Linked DNA regions of Homo sapiens: region 1 is linked to region 2. Evidence: promoter capture Hi-C in 16 types of primary human blood cells and fetal thymus (Javierre and others, 2016). All regions are on one chromosome and are shown on one strand. Each heading gives the region's core, a stretch centred on a gene start or on the middle of the fragment in contact. The rest is flanking DNA. Distances are from core to core; before and after follow the strand shown. Region 1 overlaps BAHCC1 (BAH domain and coiled-coil containing 1). Region 2 holds the start of TMEM105 (TMEM105 long non-coding RNA).

Region 1 (3,507 bases), core at 101-2,600, 74 kb after region 2:
ACTGGGGCTGGCGCCTCTGCTGGGAGTGTGTGTGTGATCCGAGGCAGCCCCGGCCTGGGGAGAGGCCCACATAGACAGCCCCCCGTCCTGGCTTCTGGCTGGGCCCGCTCCTGTCCTGGTCTGTACGCCTCCCCTCTCCAGGGGCCAGGGCTCCACCAAGGCACTATTTCTCATCTTGGTTTCAATAATCTGCTCAGATTCCCCTCCCGCCCCTTCTCTTGTCTTCTTTGGGGTGTAAATTGCTGAAGCCTGGGAAACCAGGTGCTCTGAGCCTGGGGTTATTGTGGGAGAAAGGCGAAGGCTCCTTCTGGTGGGAGAACTGCAAACTACTTCTTTCCTGCTGAAAAAGTGCTTCCTACCGCCAATCTCAAAAAAAAAAAAAGAAAAAGAAAATACCAAAAAACACAACCAAAAAATACCCCCAACTTGGCAGAGGAAAAAAAAAGATAATTTCCTAGTGTGAAAAGACCCCATCACAGGCTCCTCTCCCTCATCATGTGATATTTTTTTGTAAAGAAAAAAATACATTTTCTTAAATACCTCATTAACTCCATGACACGATGGAGTGTTTCTGCAACAGTTAGCAACATTAAGTAGGTGTGAAAAGAGTTACTTTCCGAAGACGTCACCCGTCCCGCTCCATAAGTGACAGAGTTAGACATCAAAGTTGCCGCGAGCCCAAAGGAGCTACGGGAATCCGGGAATGTGGGGCCGCGTGGACCGGCGGCGGTGGCCCGCCACGCCCGCCCCGCCGAAGCCCTGTTTGGAATGTGGGTTTCCCCCAGTGGGGCTCGTGCTGCCACCACGTCTGATTATCCCGGTACGGAGCCGCCGCGCTTTCTGTAGGAATATCCAGGTCACGTGAGTAATAAGGCAAATTAGTGAGCCAGGCAGAGAACGGCGTTGTGCAAATAGCACATCTCCCCTGGAAAACGCGCGTCCCCCCAAACGTTCCCCGGTTATTCTTAGAAATCTTCTCTCATCTCCCTGTGAGACAGGGTTCAACAGCCCCCACAGACAGGACAAAATGCATAGGAGGCTGTTAGAATAACATGGATGAGGCTAAAAATACCCCTCAGAAACACACATAAAAAAGCCAAATCCAACAACAGAACGAGCTAAAAATATTCCAGGCTTTGGCAAAGAGCACAGAGTTAAATAAATTATACAAGAGCCATTCATGGGAGCAAGTTGACTTTCTCTCTTACGGGAACTTGGTTCAAGCTAATAAAAATAATAATTTACTAGCCACTGAGCTTTGCATGAGTTTAAATTTAATTGGTGGGGCTTCTGGCGTTTGTCACTTCTTGGCGATTAGTGGTCTTGCCCTGGCCTGGGCCAGAGTGGGGAGGGGATGCCGAGGCTGGGGCTCCTGGCAGCAGGGTCATTGTCCCCTGAGAAGCAGGGCCTGGGTGCAAGGGCAGATTACCCAGGAGGCTGGAGGAGGATGGAGACTATTGGGGGTTCCATCCAGGAAGGCAGAAAAAGAACTGGCAAGGCACGGCTATTTTAATTTGATAAATGATTGTACACCTTTAAGAGTGTTTTAACAATCAGGATACACTCCAGCAAGTTGATAGGATGTTCGCTGTCAACTTACATATGTCATCAGAGCTGGCTGTGAGCATAAATAATGTGCGAGCGCTTGGGACAGCTGCAGTCTCTCCTGGAGGCTGAGGCGTGGCAGGTAGCACCTCTGTCCCCTGGCGGGCACCTTTGTTCTCCTTCTCTCTGTGTGTCTGGAGGCAGGGACCGGAGAACAGTCGTGGGGAATCACTGAATGCTGCTTTCATCCTGGGTGGTTTGGTTGGGGTGCCTCCTCTCTGCGGACTTTTTAGGTCTCCCCACGAAAATAAGAGTCCCCAGAACTACTTGACCAGAAAAGCCACTGTGGATATGATCTGAAGCTAGAATAGTAGCATCGTCTGGTGTGTTTTGTTTTTGTTTTTGTTTTGTTTTTGTTTTTTGAGACAGTCTGGCTCTGTCTGCCAGGCTGGAGTGCAGTGGCACAATCTTGGCTCACTGCCTCACTGCAACCTCTGCCTCCCTGGTTCAAGCCATTGTCGTGCCTCAGTCTCCCAAGTAGCTGGGATTACAGGCATGTACCACCACGCCCTAATTTTTTGTATTTTTAGTAGAGACGGGGTTTCACCATGTTTCCCATGCTGGTCTTGAGCTCCTGAGCTCAAGCAATCTGCCCACCTTGGCCTCCCAAAGTGCTAGGATTACAGGTGTGAGCCACCGTGCCCGGCCTCTGGTGTCTTTTGAGGCAGCAGATGTTTATATATAGCCACTTCCCAGGAGTTTTAAACATCCACCCTGGGGTTGGAGTAAGGGTAACTCCCTTTACTCCCTCCTCTTCCTTGGCTGTTTCTTAACTCAATCTGCCTCCCCCGCCCCCAATCCTGGCAGGGCCTTCTAACTCCCAAAGGACTATATTTCCCAGAATACCCTGATCTAGCTCCAGGGTCTGAGCCCGAGACTGTCCATGTCCCTGGGCTGGGAATTCCCAAGCACAGATAGAGTTCAGCCAGTGCCGCTGGGAATAAATACTTTCCTGGTGGAAGAAAGCCTTGCTCCATCGTGCCCCCCTGCCCTTCCTTCTGGAAGAGGCTTCTGGGCCCCCCGGTCTGGCTTCCTCCCTACCATAAATACCTGAATATAGGCCCATAACAAATGGGACCTGTCCTCTGTCCTCTGCCCTCTGGATCCTGTGAGGCAGCTACTGTGATTGTCCTGGCCAACGCCCCACCGGAGAGTCTCCCCCAACCCCCTGAGCTCAGTACATGGCATATGCCCTCTTTTGGAGTGGTCTTCTCAGAGGGGCCTGGTTGCCCATCAGCTGCTGTGGAAGCGATACAGGGACTCCTCCTGGGTAGCAGCAGGGCCAGCCTCTGCCTAGGGAGTCCCTCGAGAAAATACCGCCCAGCCTTTGGGGTGCCCCCTTGCCCTCCTGACACCCTCAAACAACAGAAGCTGCCTGCCTTCTTAATGGGTTCATCCTGAATGAGAGGTTTCCAAAAAGAAGCCCTCCCTCAAGACAGGCACTGCCTTGTTCCCCTGAGGAGGGAGGCAGGCTCGTCCTGGCCTGTCCAGGGGAGGGTCCGAAACCCTTGGCTCCTGGACAGCCTCCTTGAGGGGAGATGGCCTCCCCTTGTGTCCCCCACCTCGCAGACGTGCTGTGAATGGGCTTGGACTCAGAGCACGCCCCTGTCTGTTGGGTAGGTGGGTTACTTGCTCTGCATTCCCCCTCCCAGCCCCCGCTCCCCGCCCACCTGGGAACGGCTTCCCTGGGGTTCCCCGGTCCCCATTAACCTCTGGGACCTCATTTCCCCTCACCGAAGACACAGTGTAACAAGCAAAAAAAACATCAGAGCCAGCGTGCAGTGTCTGGAAAATCACCCGCAGCCCAGGCCCTTCTGCAAAGGATGGGGCCTGGAAGGGCCTCGGGCGTGGGACCGCACTCCGCTCGGGCTCCGCCCGCTGACGTTTTTATGGGATAATATA
Region 2 (3,657 bases), core at 1,001-3,500:
CCCCCAGGGTCTCCAGGGCAGGAGCAGGGCTGGCAAGGGCAGGGCTCACAGCCCCATAGGGAGGACACAGTGCCCGCAAGAGGGACTGGGCAAGAGGTGGACAGGCAGGGGGTGGGGGCATTCTGTGTGCCCCAGAGCCTGAGTTCGCAGGCTCTCAGCAGCCCGTGCTGGGCAGCAGTGTGGGCGTCTCTCCCGCAGGGCACCCTCTGCACTTTCCTGCAGACCTGCAGCAGCCCTTTCCTGAGGGACACCTGGCTCCGGGCCCAGGGTGGGGGCGGGGCCTCGCGTGTCTCCCCCTTGATTTGTAAGAGTCCAGGGCTGTCGGCCATGGCCACACTGAGCACCCCTGGGAGCCAAGGCAGCTTAAGGACAAGGTGTGTATGAGGACGGCGGGGCCCAGGGAGGAGAGGCTAGCCCAGGGCTACCCGGGTCCCCGGAGTAGGGGCAGGGGACTTGAAAATGAGCCCCCAAGGGGCTCTGATGGGGGCAATTCCAGGAGAGGCGTGGGCAGGTGTGGGGCTGGAGAGAGGCCTGTCCTTTTTCCCTTGCCCTGCACACTGTCTGCAGGGTGGCAGACCCAGGCTGCCTGGCGAGGCTGCTTCTGGAGGCCTGAGGAAGGCTGGGCTGAGGACTCCGCCTCTCCTCAAAGCCACAGCCTCCCTGCTCTGGGGCTACATGTCGGGAAAATCCCTGCCTGGGTTACCCCAGCTGGGGACTCAAGCTCTCTTTGGACCCTACAGAAAGAGCTGGCCAGCCCCCAGGCCAGAAGGGCCGTCCGTGACCCACAGATGGCCCCAACACACTGTAAAACACGCATGATTTATTTTAGTGTGTGTTAGAAAAATAAAGCCAACACATCAAGCCTGCAATTTCGCAGATACTAACACTTCGGACCAGGAAAAAAGAAGCCCATGACATGGCACAGCGCTGTGGAGCGAGCGAGATCTGGGATGCGTAGGCCTGGACGGCTGAGGCTTGGAAACCCCTCCCCTCCCCAAACTTTCCCACCATGCAGGGGCCCAGCAGGCCCTCAGCCCACTCACCCCGCCAGAGGAGGGAGGAGGGAGGAGGGTCCGGGCCAGGTGGGAGCTTCTCCCCGGAGGCCTGAGGCAGCTTCCCTCCTCTCCCAGGAAGGGGCTGGCCCAGGCCCAGCTAGGATGCTCCCAGCCCAGCTCCTACCCGCCGGGTCTTTCCCGTTTGTCAGGCAGGCCGGCAGGCTGGGCTGGTGACTCATGACTGGCTGGGCCATCTGCCCTGCACCCCTGCCCCGGGCGAAGTGAGAAACCTGACCGGGCTCCAGCACAGACAGGAAACCCCACCCCAGGGCCTGCAGTGGGACAGGTGTGGCCGCCCTCCACCCCCACACAGGCCTCGGGGAGGGTGTCTGAGGCCGGCCTGGCCCTCTCTGCAGCACTGAAACACCAGCTGCCTCTCCCCAGCCCGGAACTGGGGATCCAGTGTCCTCCGCACTGACCCCAGGCTCTGCTCTCCCTGGGAAGCACCCGCTTTGACAGTGGGGCCAAGGACTGGGGTTCCCACCCTCCTCTGCCCAGTGGACTTTGTGGCCCCAGGCAGGTGGCATCAGCTCTCTGGGCCTAAGCTTCTCATCTCTGCAGGGTTCATCAGCTCAACAAGCATTTGTGGGTTCCTGAGACCTGAAGGCTCCACTCCCCCACCTAAGCACACAACAGTCCAGGCACCACCCACATCTCCCTCTTACCTGGAGCAGAGGGGCGGGTGTTCGGAGCCTTGGGGCCCAGGGTCATTTGCACTGGAGGGGGCCAGGAACGCTCCCAGGAGTGTGGCAGTCCCTTCCTAGGGGGCCCCTCCTGGAGCAGCTGCCTTGAGAGCCCAGCCTACAGCAGAGCCTGGTGGGGTGGCCGGGCTACTGCTACCTGGCTTCACTGCTTTCTTCTGCCATTCCTCCCAGGCTACCCAGGAGGACGAGAGGGGCAGGGTACTGGCGGCAGCAAGAGAGAACCCGCCCAGGAGGGCCCAGCACGGGAACTCCAGCCTCCAGAGCCAGCAGAGCCACGGGAACAGGAGTTCCTCCTCACAGAGGAGGCGCTGTTGGAGGGCCAGGAGCAAACTCCCAGCAGAGCAAAATGCAGAGGTGACCAGCCCAGGGCACACCAGCCACTGAAAAACCCAACAGTGGGGGCTGCCGTGGGGATCCAGGGTTGGGGGACTCTCAGACGGCCCCCCAGGCTTGTCCCCATGCGTATTCTTTGAGCTGATGGGGACGCAGTGTTCACAGTCCTGACAGGAGGCAGGCGTGACCCCAGTCGGGGAGTGGACTTGGCCCTCTTCACACCCCCAGGGCAGAAAGCCCTGTTCAGAGGTACCAGGGAGCAGGCACAGGCCAGGGTCCGAATTCGTAACAAGCATCCGGGACTCCACATGACGCAGGTCTGAGAATCGATCCCGGGTTCCAGCCCAGCCATCATTTTCAGAGAATACGGGCCCTGTCCCGAGCCGCCAGCCATTGCCAATGGCTGCCCGGAGGAAGGGAGGAAGGGGTGCCCCCAGCTTGTGGAACCAACAAGGGCTTAATGGTAGGGCACGCCCAGGGGCAGACGCCAAGAAAGGAGAGGAGGGGGCGGGGGCTCCGGCCAGGGAAGCCGTGTCCTCTGCACCAGGCAGAACAGGGGGCTGGGCCGCCCTCAGCCTGGATCTGGCCAGGGCTGGGATGCCAGCTCTGAGAACAGGGCCCAGCCCTCACCTGCTTGGTTTGCCTCTTGCCAGGGGAAGGGGCTCAGGAAGGTTTCTGAGCTGCCCCATGCCCCTGCCTGGAGTTCCTGACCCTCGGGGGAAGCTGAGGCTACAGAGAGCACGAAGTGCAAAAGGCCTGGTGGTTGGACCCAGAGCCCCTGTCCCTGGGTCCCCGCTCCTCCCCACCACCCCGTCCCAGCTCTCCCACGCTCCCACGAGGCCACATCATCTTCTGCTCCTGCTGAGTTCCCCTTCACGCATATGAAAAGCAAATTACAGGAGGGAGAAGGCAAACCCGGGGTGAACGGGGGCCTCCTGGGACTCCTTGGACCCCCGGGAGAGCCTGTGAGGGCTTCTATGGGCCGACTGGGATCTCAGGAGCAAAATAGGGGCCCCTAGCCCACAGCGGAGGGCGACTCTAATCAGCAGAGATCGCCCAGCATGCCTTATCCTCAGCAGCTCAGGGCCACCTGTGGGGCAGGGGGAGGGGGCCTGGCCAGCTGGGTCGGCCGCCCCCGGCAAAGCCAGGGGACGCCAGGAGCGGAGCTGTGTGGTGCAGAGCAACTGTGTCCCAGGGGAGGGGGGGTCTGTCTCCGCTCCTCCCAGCTGCAGGCCCTGGGCAGCCGCAACCTCTCAGAGCCTGCCTGCCCCTCTCCTGAGGTCTGGATTTTGCCAGCACAGAGCAGGGACCTCAGCAATATGCCCAGCCTGGCGCAGGCCCAGGGCAGGCCCTCTATCCGCAGGGCATCCTCTGGTCTACAAGTTCTGTGACGACGTGGCTGGCACCAGGGTCTGAGGGCTTTGATGCTGGGGAACGTCCTTGCGCCTCTGCAGTAGATGTGAAAGTCTGTGGAGCCCGGGGACCTGGAGCAGGTGGCCTGGGTGGGGCTGCTGCCTTCTGGGCCAGGACCAGATTCCACTCCCTGGCTGGACAGCCCTGGGCAC

Evidence for each region. The method cuts DNA at HindIII sites, captures the fragments that hold promoters and counts their contacts. A CHiCAGO score of 5 or more calls a contact.
Region 1: a fragment that was not itself captured here is called in contact with the fragment with the promoter of TMEM105 in region 2 in 1 of 17 cell types (monocytes); the score reaches 5.6 in monocytes.

The regions. Positions count from the first base shown.
Region 1 is chr17:81,403,113-81,406,619 of GRCh38, forward strand. All of the region lies in intron 2 of BAHCC1 (BAH domain and coiled-coil containing 1), which reads left to right. Among named protein-coding and RNA genes, the nearest start is that of MIR4740, 4.1 kb to the left of the region's middle. RefSeq lists an enhancer at 2,476-3,030. The HindIII fragment of the contact is 5,924 bases long and covers 1-3,507 here.
Region 2 is chr17:81,328,424-81,332,080 of GRCh38, forward strand. It overlaps TMEM105 (TMEM105 long non-coding RNA), which reads right to left and starts at 2,251. Exons shown (of 3, transcript NR_165247.1): 1 at 1,721-2,251. RefSeq lists enhancers at 20-591, 592-1,163, 1,164-1,733, 2,877-3,447, 3,448-3,657. The HindIII fragment of the contact is 4,997 bases long and covers 1,599-3,657 here.